Linked DNA regions of Homo sapiens: region 2 is linked to region 1. The links are contacts of gene promoters, found by promoter capture Hi-C in blood cells and fetal thymus (Javierre and others, 2016). All regions are on one chromosome and are shown on one strand. Each heading gives the region's core, a stretch centred on a gene start or on the middle of the fragment in contact. The rest is flanking DNA. Distances are from core to core; before and after follow the strand shown.

Region 1 (7,741 bases), core at 3,556-6,055:
GTGGTCAGTTTCCTGGTGTGCTCATGCTATTAAGGTTAGGGTATTTGTGATTAAGTTGAAACTGGTTCCTTTGCTTAGAAGATTAACCCTTAAACCTAGAGCCAAAAGTTTCAGTGTTGCTAAAAAAAAAAAAAAAAAAAATTCTATGTTAAATTCGGTCAAAGCTATTATGCAAACATACCTTTTGGAAAAAGTAATTTGGGCCGAGCACAATGGCTCAAAGTTGTAATTCCAGCACTTCGGGAGGCTGAGGCAGGCAGATCACTTGAGCCCAGGAGTTCGAGACCAGTCTGGGCAACATAGCAAAACCCTGTCTTTTACAAACATACAAAAATTAGCAGAGGGTGGCGCGTGCCTGTAGTTTCAGCTATTGGGATTGGGGGTGTGGGGTGCTGACACGGGAAGACTGCTTGAGCCCATGAAGTCAAGGCTGCAACGAGCCAGATGCCACTGCACTCCAGCTTGGGTGACAGAGCAAGCAAGACCTTATCTCAAAAAAAAAAAAAAACAAGAAAGAAAAAGAAATGAAAAAGTAATTTGGATGTGTAAAATATAACTTTACAATTTAGAATATACAAAACTCTGTGACTTCAAAACCTCCTTAAACTTTAAAACTCACTCATGAGATAAACATTTCTGACAGTTGCACAGTGTTCAAAGTAGGTATGGTTGTTGTAAGCCCTTCACGAGTATGTAACTTAGTTCAAGTTTCCTAAAACTTTAAAATGATAACACTCATTAATGGTATTTAAATGTTTTTTTCTTGAAAGAGATCGTGTTACTAGTATAAGCACAGCTAAGGAGAGAAATCTATCAGTCCTTGCTCTAAGCTTGAAAACTGATAAGTATGCAGAAAACCAGTTCTTCCTGTTTCTTCTACTAAACTTCTTTTAGATTACTGACCAAGTTGATATCAAAGAGATCTGTAGGCACTTGAAGAAATGTGCATAGGCTTACAAGGCCACCAGGAACAGTGGTGCAGACAGTAGTGTTATAAATGTGAATTTGGGCAGCAAGGGGCAAGAGGACGCTCAGCTCTGTCATACTTAATCACTGAACAAATTACTTAATCCTTCTAAGAGCACAAAATAATAAAAATAATACCCATCTCACCGGATTATTTTGTAAAGAAAATGATTTGAGACTTGGCACAGAGTAGGCCTTCCACAAATGTTAGCTACTCTTATTATTGCCCATTCCTATGCTCCTATTCAGTCCTTCTAAAGAGGCAATCGTTTGACAGATGCTCCCACATTCTTTCTCAAATGGCCCTGTGAGGTGGAAGGAATAGCCCAGTGTTGTCATTGCCACTTTATGCTTGGGGAGATGCAAGCCATAAGTAGAGGTTACACCAAGTTCTAGACTCCTACCCCTAGGGTAGGAGTCTCTTGCCTTTTGCACGCTAAGCATTGACTGCAATGCCATTATTTCAGATGCTACTTGTCCTGCTGGTGCATAAGCACTGCCTTTTATTTGTGAGTTTAAAAACAAATAAGTGTTACAACATTCAAGCAGAGAGCTCAAAAAGAGTATAAAAATACTGAGAGGAACGTATAATTGCTTCACTAGAATGGGCAAAAATCTTCGTTCAGCAGGGTTGACTTTGTCCCAGAACCTGGAAAGGAGTCCAGGATTACACCCTGAAAAGAGTGACCACTGCTGGGTGTGGTGGCTCACGCCTGTAATCCTGGCACTTTGGGAGGCCGAGGTAGGTGGACCACCTGAGGTCAGTAGTTTGAGACCAGCCTGGCCAACATGGTGAAACCCCGTCTCTACTAAAAAGACAAAAAAATTAGCTGGGTGTGGTGGCACACACCTGTAATCCCAGTTACTCAGAAGGCTGACCATGAGAATCACTTGAACCTGGGTGGCGGATGTTGCAGTGAGCCGAGATTGCGCCACTGTACTCCAGCCTAGGCGACAGAGCAAGACCCTGTCTCAAAAAAAAAAAAAAAAAAAAAAAAAAGAGAGTAACCACTTACTTACTTGTTCGAAATTTTTCCTTGAGGGCATCCAGATCCTCCTTGAGAGCAACCTGCATCCACACCAAGCCAACACAGGCCACAACACAGGCAGCAAGGATGACAAAACCACAGAGCGGATAACAGATCTTGCAGCATCGTAAATAGTCTCCCCTGCTCAAGAGGACAAATTCAACCATGAGTACAAAAGTGATTATGGGTATAGCTTTATTAGCAATAGTACACGTTTTGCCATGCAATTATCTCCTTTAAATGAATAACCAGTGAATTAACCAGGGGAGGCAGGGTAAAGCACTTAAATGAATAAATAATATGACCTATTAAGGGTTCATCTACTGGATACAAAGGTTTCAAATGTCACATAAAACAGAAGGAGTTCCTGCAGGTAAAAGGAAGAACCTAAAGGCACTGCAGCTGTCATTATCAGGAGGGAGGTCTTTGAATACAAGCTCAGGTCACAAAAGTGTAAAGACCAATGTTTCTCTGCAATTCCATCTCTGCACTGGAATTTGCCTATTGATTTCTCTCTGAAATACATACTCACTCCGGGGAACCTTGCTCCAGTTTACTGAAACTTTATAAACTTTTGAGCAAGTTTTACTGCAAAAGAAATGAAAGAAACAGGATCTGTAGTTTTAAGTGGACACCTGGTGTATTCTAGCTTATTGGCTCAGAAGTAAGGAAACATAGAAGGGGCTGGATTTCACACAAAACATCAACCAACCTTCAAGGTCTAAACTAACTTAGTAGGGTTACTACTCCAGGTACCTTCTGATGAAGGTAACACTTCAACTGATCTTCATAACCCAAACCCAGGATTGCCCTTAACAGCCTTAGCTGACAAAGCTCATTAGAAATCAAACTCTTCCTTTAACAAAACAAGACATTTTAAACCAACCAACCACTCAATGTCAGCACCCCGACCTTCTGCCTAGCCATTGTTTCTACATCCTCAGCAGAATCCTCTTTTCTTTTAGTGTGCTCTGAGAGAGTCAAAGGACGTTTTTGAAGTTCCCTTTAGTCCTTTCCCATCCTGAGCCCCAATCCCAATGTCCTCAAATCTTACTACTTGATTTGCCTAGTGGTCTCTCCACCTATGAATGGCTAGGGAAAATGATGCCTCTTCTTTTGCCCCCCGACCCCACCTACTCTCAAGGCTCATACTTCCTACAGTATATCTCTCACCATATTTCCCCACCACCAATATTCAGACTCATCAAGAGTGCAAAAACGAAATAATCTGCAGTCTTAAAGTCTCTGCTTCTCCTTTGTTCTACACTGTTTTAAAAAGTCTAGTCCCCAAAGCTTCTCTGCTCCTCTGTCTCCATTCTTTGCTTCTTTAGGACTCCCTGGGCTCTTGGCACATTCTCCAAGTCCACATTTCCACCTCAGATTTGGAGCTTTTCTTTCTACACCTAAAGACAGATCTCTAACTTATTCTTCATTCAGGATCTGAACTTACCTTCTCCCTAAAACCGTTTTTCCCTCTTTGACTTCCAAGGCCTACACCCTTTTTTCTTCCTAAGGACTTCCTTTCTCCTTCCTGTCAATGTGGCCCCTTGGTAGTGCAAGGAGATGCCTTCTTCCCATTCCACCTTTCACCACTACTCACTTGGCAAAGCGAGAGCGATTTCCAACCACACCGAATTCCTCTTCCTCTTCGGAGCTGGACTCAGAGTCTGAGTCGGGAGGCTCAGTGCGAAGCAGGCGGTGACTGCTTGGGCCTTTCTTGGGCTTCTTTCTCCGGCTGTCCCCAGCCAAACCAATCAATGCATTGAGCTCTTTGCGCTTTTTCATCTTTTTGTGTGGGGTGAGTGGAGCCCCGACTCCTGAGCTGCCAGGTTCGTACCCGATGCCCAATTCTCTTCCTGCCTTGGAGCTGCCTTCCAGGGTTGGGAATCCTGGGCCAGAGCCCCCTGGTCACTCCCACCTAGGGGTGGGACTGACCAGATCCGCCAGGGACTGGAGATTGGAGCCCAGAGGAAACTGGAACTCAGATGGGTGGGGGAAATCACATAGAAATGGCCAAGGAGCTGGTGACCCCAAAGGATAAGGCCTTGGGTGCAGAGTGTTAGTAGAGGGTGGAGAGGGACCTTTATCTCCCAAAGGGCGAAAAAAAAGCCAGGTCAAAAATGAAGGATTCTCAGCCCGGATAAGTAGGCAATACTTCTAAGGGTGCTCCAGGAGGTGAGGAAGGGCACGCTTAAAATACGTGTTTCGGACCTCCGGAGCAAGATTTCCAATGGAGAGGGAAGAGAAACTCGTTCTTGAATGGGAAGAGAGTGGGGAGGTGCAGAGTAAGAAAGTGGGAACGCGTCAGTCCCTTCCTTGCAGGAGAGGTGGCGGCAGGAGGGGGCTCCCAGCAGCTACAATCCCAACACTGCTTGGCCGCAGAGAAAATGCCCTGGCCAGGAAGCCGGCTGGGGTGTGTGATGATCACCGTTCTCCGGCCTCCGTCCTGAACGTGAAGGGGGCCCGAGGCCGAGGAAGATCCGGAGCCCGGCTAGAAGGGTCGGCCTGAGAGAAGCCAGTCCCGCGCCTGATAGACCCCCGCCCCGCTGTCTGGGCCTTGGGGACACGGTGCCGCGGGCGACGGCGGCTCGGCCGACCGAAAGCGCTCCCGCCCGGAGTTTGAGGTCTCCGGCACGGGCAACTCTCGGCCACTCACACGCGCAGGCCCCACTCCAGCCGCGACTCCGGCCCCTGCTCCGGCTTCGGCCGCGGCTGCTCCCGACACGTTGTTGTTGGCGTTGGTGGCGGCGGCTGCGGCGGCGGCGGCCGCGAGCTCCAGCCCCGGGCCATCGCTCCAGCCCCAGATCACTTCCCCTTTGGCAGCGGCCGCCTGCGCCGCCTGCCAGTAAGCCGCACTCCCATTGGTCGCCCGCTGGGGTGACGTCACGCCGGGGCGAAAGTCGTGGCGGAGAGGTGGGGCGTTAAAGGGGCCCTGCCCCGGCTGGGGCTGGGTCCCACCTGCCGATTAGGGTGGCCCCGCCCCCAGGAGGGCTTCCGGGACCTGCTGCGAACCTGAGCCGGGTGGAGTCCTGCATCCTGCGGAGCGCGGGCGGGGCAGGCAAAGCGCCCGGCTGCTCGACCTACTTCGAAAGTTCATCAGCCGCCCACGCCCCCTGGACTAACCAAGTCTGAAGGCTCCGCCTCTCTGACTCTCACACAGGCTGTTAAAAGTTTAGGCGCGTTTCAGATTAATTAACACATTCATTCAGTCAATAAATATTTATTGAGAGCTTACTTACTACGTGTCAGGAGCTGTTCTAGCGCTGGGGATACAGCCATGAACAAAATAACCAGGGTCCTTGTCTTCCTGTATAGTGTTGCCAGATTTAGCAAATAAAAATGTAGGACACCCAGTAAAGTTTGAATTTCAGAGAAACAGCAAACAATTTTTTAGCATTAAGACATCCCATGCAACATCTGGGACATCCTCACACTAAAAAATTATTCATTGTGTATGTGAAATGCAAGTTTAACTGAGCATCGTGTATCTTATCTGCCAATCTATTCCTGCAGTTTATTTATACTCTAGAGGGAGGAGAGCAACAATAGGCAAACATATTAAATGTCAGGAGGTGATAAGTGTTATGATGAAAATTGAAACACGGTCAGGTGATGGGGAGTGCCTCTGTGAAAAGGGAACATTTAGTCAGCTTATCGGAGGAGAGGTGAGGGAATGAGCTGTGCAGTGGCTGCAGGAAGGAGTGACCAGGAAGACCTGTTGTGGCTGGACCAGAAGAGCAAGGAGCAGAGTGATAGGAAATGAGGTCAGAGAAGCATCAGAGGCCAGGGCTTTAGGGCCTTATGGATCACTGAAAGGACTTTGGGAAAGCACTGGGGGCTTTAAGCTGAGAGGTAGCATACTCTGGCTTTTCCGTAAAAAAAAAAAAAAAAAAAAAAATTCACTCTGGGCCAGCGCGATGGCTCACGCCTGTAATCCCAGCATTTTGGGAGGCTGAGGTGGGCGGATCACAAGGTCAGGAGATGGAGACCATCCTGGCCAATATGGTGAAACCTTGTCTCTATTAAAAATACAAAAATTACCTGGGCGTGGTGGTGCGCGCTTGTAATCCCAGCTACTTGGGAGGCTGAGGCAAGAGAATGGCTTGAAACCGGGAGGCGGAGGTTGCAACAAGCCGAGATTGCACCACTGCACTTCAGTCTGGCAACAGAGCGAGACTCCGTCTCAAAAATAAATAAATAAATAAATAAATAAATAAATAAATAAATAAATAAATAAATAAAATAAAATAAAATAAAGGAAAAAATTACTCTGGCTACTTTGTAGAAAAAAGTGGGGGGAGAGTGAGGAACACAGGAGAGCAGTTTGTTACAGTCCAGCTAGAGATGATGCTGATAGATTAGAGAGGCAGTAGCAGAGATGGAGAGCATTCTGGATGTTTCTTGAAGACAGAGCTGACAATTTTTGCTGATAGATTAGATGAAAGGTGTGAAGAGAAGAGAGGGTTTGGCGGTGGAAACACTGGAAGCAAGGAATTGTTATTTATTGAGATGGGGTAGAGCAAGTTTGGGACAAGTTTGACAAGCCAATTCAATATTCAAATGGAGGCTGTTTGGTATACCCATTGAGAGTTCTCTGGGCACAGGTTGGGGCCTGAAATATCAATTGGGAAGTCATCAGATATAAATGGAATTTAAAGCAAAGTGCTTTGAGCTACTTGGAAGAAAGTCACTTAAAGTAATTTTTATGCCCATATTCTTACTGTGGCAATTACGCTGCTTTTGTCCAAGGATTCTCGCAAAGCCTGGGCCTGTATCTGATTTGTTTTTAAGTGTCTAGCCCAGAAGTGTACTCCTAAATAACGATGACCCAATAAATATGTGATGACTACATAAGTGGGCAGTGTTGCAAAGAGGTATGAGTGGACTTTTGGAATCAAAATCAAGAAACCTGGGACTCAATCATGTCTCTACTTCTTCCTGGCTCCATCAGCATGGAAGCCGTTTAGTTTCTCTGAGCTTCAGTTTTCTCCTCTGTAAAATGGGGATAAACACCTATTTCACAGGACAATGAGATGAATGTGAAAGTGTTTTTGAAGCCCCAAGTCATGGTGTATTGTCCCCTTTTGTTTCTAGAGCTTCATTGCCCAATACAGTAGCCAAACTGGCCACATATAACAATTTAAATCTACATTTAACATAATTAAAACAAAATACAAATTTTAAATTGGTTCTTCAGTATCATTGGCCACAGTGTCCAGTAGCCATATGTGGCAAGTGGCTACCAGGCAGCAAGTAATAGTACAATTCCACCACCACAGAAAGTTTTACTGGAGAGTTCTTCACTAATGCTTCCCTGAAGGACTGGGGATAGACAGGTGAGGCTCCTGACTTCAAGAACCATTTCTGAAACACATCCTGTGGTCACCAGAAGCCCCAGGCAGGAGAGGTGGCTGGCCCGAGGGTGGGGTGGCCCTCCTTTGTTGTAGATGATACAGGTTCCCAGGGAACCAGGGACTGAGGAACCCAGGGGAGTGGGGCAGGGCTGAGGACATACCACCCCCGCTGCAGGGACTTCTGGTCAGCCAGAGCCTGTGCTCTCTGTGGGTGGAGATCTCTCCCATGACTGGCCAGTGGGCTGGTCATGGGTGGGGAGGCTGCAGGAGTAGAATTGACAAACAGGGGAATGCTTCTGCTGGATCTGCCTCTCAGTCCTTCTGTCTGCCTGTTTGCTTATGATCTGTAGATAACACCCCTCCTTGTTGGGTAGACATCACACAGGATGCTGT
Region 2 (7,741 bases), core at 3,540-6,039, 88 kb before region 1:
TGATGTGGGGTCACAGTGGACCACATATCAAGCAGGACCCAGTAGTGATTGTTTCAAACCATGGCAAATATTTTTTGGGTAAATGAAGATCTTGAGAGGATACCACTAAGCTATGGTTACTGCCATGGCAGATGTAGAAGGGGACCAAGGTAACGTGAATATCACATCTGTTAGGAGGGACATGGGTTCTGGGCAATACAGTGAAGATTCAAGTCCAGATGTGATGGGAGCACTGGACTGAAACCAGCCAGATGAAATGGGGCTATGTGTGGCGGTCCAAAGGACTAAAGTTCTAGGCAGGAAAAGCAATGTTTGACAACAGATTATGGGAAGATAGCAAGGTGGGAGTAAGGACGAGGGCCAGGAAAGGTGGAGTCAGTGAGATGACTTTAGTAAGTGGCTATGGGGGGAAATGACTTCCAGGTGGGCCATGCCAACTCCCAAGGGATGGCCACCCAGAATCCACTCTGATTACCCCACAAGGGCATCTTGGGCTCAACTCCAGGCCCCAACTGTGAGGCAGACACTGGTGACACTGGCTAGTCTGTCCAGATGCAGGTGAGCCAGAGGGTGAGGGGCTGGGGTTTTGGGTAATATAACTAAAGACAGACGGTTCTGCTGAAGAGATGCCAAAGCAACTTGAGAGTTATCTTTGCTTATCAGCAGGAGAGGTGGTTAGGTAGAAAAGTGAAGACTCTCCTGGGAGTTTCCATCTACAGCAGGCAGAAGGAGGTGAGGGTAGTGAGAAGAGGCCAGATTTTGGCTAGGGGTGGGGAAGAACTGGCTCACCCAGAGCTGCCTCAGCATGGTGCAGGTCAGTTAGCAGGTAGAGAGTTCCCAGTCCCCAGGAAGATTTTAAACAGTTGTCCAATGGCTTAGTGGTGCTGTAGGGAGGCCTACAATGGTGGGCGGGAGAATTAGACTAGACCAGGTTTTTTTTTTTCAGTCTTTCTTGAAAACTGTTTTTTCAGATGACAGCTTATGAGAAGCCCAGTAAATAAAACACAGATTCTCTGGTTGAGTTGGGGGTCAGAATCCCAAGGTCCCCATCTCTGGACTTTGGGGATTTCTTGAAGCACAGTTTGAAAACTGGTGACTGGATAGTCTGTAAGGCCTTTTCTTTTTTTTTTTGAGATGGAGTCTTGCTCTGTCGCCAGGCTTCGGCTCACTGCAACCTCCGACTCCCTGGCTCAAGCTAGTCTCCTGCCTCAGCCTCTCGAGTAGCTGGGATTATAGGCATGTGCCACCATGCCCAGCTAATTTTTGTATTTTTAGTAGAGACAGGGTTTCACCATGTTGGCCAGGATGGTCTTGATCGCCTGACCTTGTGATTTGCCCACCTTGGCCTCCCAAAGTGCTGGGATTACAGCTGTGAGCCACTGCTCTCGGCCGCCCACCCCCCACCCTTTTTTTTTTTTTGAGACCGAGTCTCACTCTGTCGCCCAGGCTGGAGTGCAGTGGCGCGATCTTGGCTCACTGCAACCTCTGCCTCCCGGGTTCAAGCAGTTCTCCTGCCTCAGCCTCCTGAGTAGCTGGGATTACAGGCCCCTGTCACCATGCCTGGCTAATTTTTGTATTTTTAGTAGAGATGGGGTTTCACCATGTTGGCCACGCTGGTCTCGAACTCCTGACTTCAGGTGATCTGCCCGCCTTGTGCTAGAATTACAGGCATGAGCCACCGCGCCCAGCCTGTAAGGTCTTTTTTTTTTTTTTGGAGACGAGTCTCGCTTTATCCCCCAGGTTGGAGTGCAGTGGTGCAATCTCCGCTCACTGCAAGCTCCACCTCCTGGGTTCACGCCATTCTCCTGCCTCAGCCTCCCGAGTAGCTGGGACTACAGGTGCCTGCCACCACACCTGGCTAATTTTTTTGTATTTTTAGTAGAGACGGGGTTTCACCATGTTAGCCAGGATGGTCTTGATCTCCTGACCTCGTGATCTGCCTGCCTCGGCCTCCCAAAGTGCTGGGATTACAGGCGTAAGCCACCAACCCAACCAGGTCTTTTTTAATGTTAAGGTTTGGCAAGGCAAGACAAGAACTTGAAAGTGCCAGCCTGGTACTTAAAATAATTGTTTTGCTCCAAAAGTTTGTTCACATCATCATCTCTCAGTTCTTTCTGCTTACAAACCCTGGACCTGACTGCCTTCTCTGTTGGTCCCTTGGCTTGGTTTTCCATATGCAGCCTCTGCAATAAGAGCAAGCAAAATGACCACTGTCTTGGGCTGGGACATAACCACAATGTGTTTGCCAGAGCTGGATCTCACTGTGCAAGCGATGTTTGTAGGCTCAGGTGGTCTGAGTTTAGTGGTCACTCAAACGGAGTTTGTTCAGCATCCACAGAGTATCTTATCCCTCTGCCGGGTTTCGTGCTGGACACTTGGAATATAATGTCCAGTAAGATATGATCCCAGTCTCCAAGGGCTATTCATTCTGGTGGGGAAGCCAGCCTTGCAGGGGGGCCATGTGGAGGGGAATAGGTCTCAGGGAAGGCTTCTCATAGGGATACTACAGTGAAGCTTTGAATTAACTTAAGGAGGAATGGGCATTTGAAGCAGGCAAATGTATTAGAAAAGAGCAGAACAGAGGTAGGAAGAGCACAATGTGTTTAGGGAACTGCAAGTTATCCAGAATGGCTGGAGCCAAAGGAGTAGGTAGGAGAGGCACAAAATGAGCCTGGAAAAGACACCATGCACTGGATCCTGAAGCTCCTGTGAGCTGATCTAAAAGGACTTTGTCCAGAAAGCCCTAGGGAACCTGTAATGATTCTTAAGTGGTTTGAACCAATTTTTCTTGTAGATATTCCAGTTCCTAAAGCCTGAAGAGCGTAGAAGTAGCCCTGTTCAAGTGAATGTGAAGAATGAGCCTGCTCAGTGGACATTACAAATGATCCTATTAAGTGTGGAGCATGGACACACTTATTATTATTCCTGGGTTGGCTCCTGATGCAGACAGCAACCTTGAAGTCATCTCTTCCCTTTCTGTGCTCCTACTCTCCCTTTTAGCAGAACAAGGATAAAGATGTTGTTATCAACCTGTCACATCAGAAGAATTGACAAGACCAAAGTTCTCCGAAGGAAGTCTTCCCTAGTTAGAACATGATGTCTTGCAAAATTGTCTGGAGGAATCAGAGGTATATAATGCATGCATTTTGTTCTTTAGTTACCAGCAAGAAAATTGGGAGACATGTTTCTCAGGGCTGGTTCCAGAGCCAACCATGACTTACTTTTTTTTTTTTTTTTTTTTGAGACAGGGTCTCATTCTGTCACCCAGGCTGGAGTGCAGTGGCACAATCTGGGCTCACAGCAACCTCCACCTCCCAGGTTCAAGTGATTCTCGTACCTCAGCCTGAGTAGCTGGGATTACAGGTGTGTGCCACCACATCCAGCTAATTTTTGTATTTTTAGTAGAGAGGGGGTTTCGTTATGTTGAGCAGGCTGGTCTCTAACTCCTGGTCTCAAGCGATCGGCCCACCTTGGCCTCCCAAAGTGTTGGGATTACAGGCATGAGCCACTGTGCCTGGCTGGTTGCTCTCTTTTCTGAGCTGGAGTTGGGGCATGAGGGTACAAGGAGAGAGCAGCACATGTCACTGACCAGCAGGTTCCTGCCAACCTCATAGGGTTGGTAGGATTGAGATAATCCATGTAAGGGCTTAGCACAGTGCCTGGTATATGGTTAGCCCTTAGTAAATGTTAGTGGTTATTGTTAATGTGTATATAGTCAAGTGTTGCTTAACAATGGAGACTACATTGAGAAATGTATCATTAGGTGATTTGGTTGTTGTGCAAACATCATAGGATGTATTTATACAAACCTAGATGGCATATAGCCTATTGCTCCTAGGCTGCAAACCTGTACAGCATGTTACTGTGCTGAATACTGTGGACACTGTAATATAAGGGTAAATACTTATCTATCGTATCTAAACATAGAAAAGGTACAGTAAAAATACAGTATAAGATAAAAAATGATATTGCTGTATAGGACACTTACAATGAATGGAGCCTGCAGGACTGGAAGTTGTTCTGGATGAGTCAGTGAGTGAGTTCTGAGTGAATATGAAGACTGAGGAGGACATTACTGTACACTACAGTAGGCTTTATAAACACTGTACACTAAATTTATAAAAATATTTTTCTTTTTTCAATAACCTTAGCTTACTATAACTTTTTAACTTTATAAACTTTTTAATTTTTAAAACTTTTGACTATTTTATAATTGCACTTAGCTTAAAACACACTGTATAGCTGTATAAAATATTTTCTATCTTTATTCTGTAAGCTTTTTTCTTTAAAAAATTTTATTTTTTACTTTTTAAATGTTTTGGTTAAAAGCTAAGACACAAACATGTACATTAGCCTAGGCCTACACAGGGTCAGGATCATCAACATTACTGACTTCCACCTGCACATCTTGTCCCACTGGAAGGTCTTCAGGGGCAATAACACACATGGAGCTGTCCTCTCCTATAAGAACAATGCCCTCTTCTGGAACAACTCCTGAGAGACCTGCCTGAGGCTGTTTTACAATTGACTTAGTATTTTTTATACGTAGAAGGAGCACACTCTAAATAATACAGTAAATACATAAACCAGTAATAGTCATTTACTATCAAGCATTATGTACTGTACATAGTTTTATGCACTATACCTTTTTATTTTTTGAGATAGGGTCTTGCTCTGTGGCCCAGGCCGGAGTGCAGCAGTGTGATCCCAGCTCACTGTAGCCTCAACCTCCCGGGCTCAAGTGATCCTCCCACCTTAGCCTCCTGAGTAGCTGGGACTACAGGCGTGCACCACCACGCTCAGTTAATTTTTAAATTTTTTTTGTAGAGACAAGGTCTCGCTATGCTGTCCAGGCTGGTTTTGAACTTCTAAACTCAAGGGATCCACCTGCCTCGGCCTTCCAAAGTGCTGGGATTACAGGCGTGAGCCACCGTACCCGGCCCCTGTACACTATACTTTTATACCCTATACCCCTATACACTATGCTGGTGTAGTAGATTTACACCAGCATCACCACAAACACATAATGCATTGTGCTATAACATTACCACAGCTATGATGTCACTAGGCAATAGGAATTTTTCAGCTCCATTATAATCTTATGGGACCACAGTTGCATATGCAATCTAACGTGACCAAAACATTGTTATGTAGTACGTGACTGTAGCTTGGGAGGCCAGCACTGAACCCACAGTACCTCTTGTCTATTGCAAGAAACATATAGCCTTTGAGACTTTAACACTGTCTACCTGTTATTCCCCATTAAGCCATAAGTGCTTCATGGGTGGGTACCAGAGCCTGGCAAGCTTTGCATCCTCCATAGCATGCGGGGGGAGTTCCTTAACTCTCTTTGCCCCTTCTGAGACGGCATTGATCAGTTTGTCTTGTATTGTAATCATTCATGTCAGGTCATGCCGCTGAACTGTAGGCTCCTAAAGGGTAGATACTGAATCTTTATATTTGTCCAGAAACAAGCATTCCTAGCTTGGCTCTGCTCCGGGGCGTTAACACTTGCTGTTCTCTTTACCTGGTTCTCTTTCCCCAGCTCATGTATCAGCTGCCACTGCTGCAGAGATGCCTCTCCTGACCATTAAGTTATTGCCTCCACTCCATAGTCTAAAATATTATTTTTAAATTTTCATAGCACTACCAGTATGTAAAATAATTTTATTGATTTACTTGTCTTCTTTACAAGAATATAAACTACATGAGAACAGGAGCCTTATTTGCCATGTTCATTGCTATATTATCCAGTTTTTTATAACAGTGCTTGGCAAAAAGGTGCTCAATAAGTGTGAATGAATGCTGACTCAATGCCAAATCAAATGACTAGGAAGTGGGCATTAGTACCTCTTCTCCAAGACTGAACAAAAGGTCAGTATGGAGAGTGCAAAGCAAAACATGTGGCTCCAGCTTCCAAACTGGTTGGAGAAGAAAGAAGTACCAGTATGAACATCCAAGAACTAGACAAAGCAAACTATAATCAGGTGTAGGTGTGAGGCACTGAATCAGAGGCAAGAGAGAAACAGGCAGTGGCTAAAACAGAGCCTGCGAGCAGGAATCATACTCTACTCATCTTTCTGTGTCCAGCACTTAACATAGTGGCTGCAGAATAGATGCTCTGTGAGCAGCTGTTAAGTTGTACTGTGTAATGGTCCACCAAGGTAATGCCAGTGGATTAGGTGAGGTACAGAGAACTGTGTATAACTTGGTATCTTGGTTTGCAAATATTTCTACTCAACAAATTCTCGATCTATGTGTATTAAGAGATTCTTTTAAATCTAGAGTATTTACATGCAGGTACATACACAAGACAATGTTTTGGTTGAAATCCATATTACCTATTTATTCAACAAAAAACTGAGTATCTTCTATGGTCCAGGCCATGTCCTTGGCACTGCGAACAGAGATAAGTCCTGGCCCTCAAGGAGCTCACAGTCTAGTGGGGGAAAAAAGACACAAGAATAAATAAATATAATGTATTTGGAGTTTGCAAAGGGGGCCACTATGGGAGACAAAGAACAGAGGAACCTAAATATCCTATAGTTAGCATCCACAGGAAAGAAAGACCTGGCAATGTACATTTTTGTAAAGAATAGATAAGGCAGTGGTTCTCAAAGTGTGGCTGGCTAATTACCTACATCAGAATCATTTGGAGCACATATTAACAAGTAGATTCCCAGTACCTTCTGCACATATTCTTGATTTAGTACGTGTGTGGGGGGGTGGTGTACGGTTGAGGCCTGAGAATCTGCATTTTAAAAGCACTTTAGGTGATGCTACTGCATCTTAAAGTTTCAGAACTGATGAGATAAAGTTTGTTCTTTTAACTGGAATAAAGAATGATCTACACATCTGAAATGCTAACTTGTATTAGTCTTTAATGAGGGGCAAGGGAAGTAGAGAAAAGGATGGTAGTTGATATTTTCTACTATAGTGAAGTTAATTTAATTCTCACAATAATCCTATGAGGTAGATATTATTATCCCTATTTTAGATGGAAAAAAAACCCCAAAATTAGATAGTTTAAGCAATTTGTTCAACAGTATAGAGCTAATGAATAGCAACACTAACATATGAACCCAGATTCACTTAACTCTAAAGCCTGTCCACTTTCTATAACACCATGCTAGCACCAGGGGACAAATTTACTGATTAAATGGTACAATTTTCTTTGAGTTCTTTGCCAGATCTTTCTAGGTAAATAAATATAAAGAACAGCTACGTGGTACTTTAGTCATGCCCCACACATTTATCCATGGACACATCCTACTTGGCAGTTGGGGACTGAGGACAAATCCAGGAGGAATGATTAAAACGAATGGCCACTTCTTACTCCTTTTTCCATCATTTCCTCACCCGCTGGTGGAGGTGTATCAATGTACTATGTATGGCTAATAACTGGGCCCATCTGGAAAGACAAGCAAACATAACTGGATACCAATAAAAACAACCCCATCTGATGTCAAAAATTCTTGGGACCCAAAACATTCAGAAGGTCAGAAGGCATTTAATGAAAATGGCAGGGCAGATAAGACTCAAGTTTCTCAAAAGATAAACTGCCAGGACCAGAAGCAGGTCCAGAATTTACATTAGTTAACAGCTCAACCTTTAGAGAAATAGTGAAAGGATAGCAGCTTCCCCAGTTTAAAAAAATACTATCTGTCTCTCTCAATACATAGACTCAAAGGTGCAACAAAATAGACACGGCTCAGAGAATAGTGGGATGTCCACCCTATTT

The links. The method cuts DNA at HindIII sites, captures the fragments that hold promoters and counts their contacts. A CHiCAGO score of 5 or more calls a contact.
Region 2: a fragment that was not itself captured here is called in contact with the fragment with the promoter of EFCAB14 in region 1 in 2 of 17 cell types (megakaryocytes and erythroblasts); the score reaches 6.0 in megakaryocytes.

The regions. Positions count from the first base shown.
Region 1 is chr1:46,714,309-46,722,049 of GRCh38, forward strand. EFCAB14 (EF-hand calcium binding domain 14) reads right to left here and starts at 4,806. Exons shown (of 11, transcript NM_014774.3): 1 at 3,595-4,806; 2 at 1,987-2,135. The coding sequence starts at 3,779. RefSeq lists silencers at 4,611-4,660, 4,981-5,030. The HindIII fragment of the contact is 11,051 bases long and covers 3,286-7,741 here.
Region 2 is chr1:46,626,418-46,634,158 of GRCh38, forward strand. It overlaps ATPAF1 (ATP synthase mitochondrial F1 complex assembly factor 1), which reads right to left. Exons shown (of 9, transcript NM_001394565.1): 9 at 6,320-7,741. Among named protein-coding and RNA genes, the nearest start is that of MOB3C, 13 kb to the left of the region's middle. The HindIII fragment of the contact is 1,030 bases long and covers 4,275-5,304 here.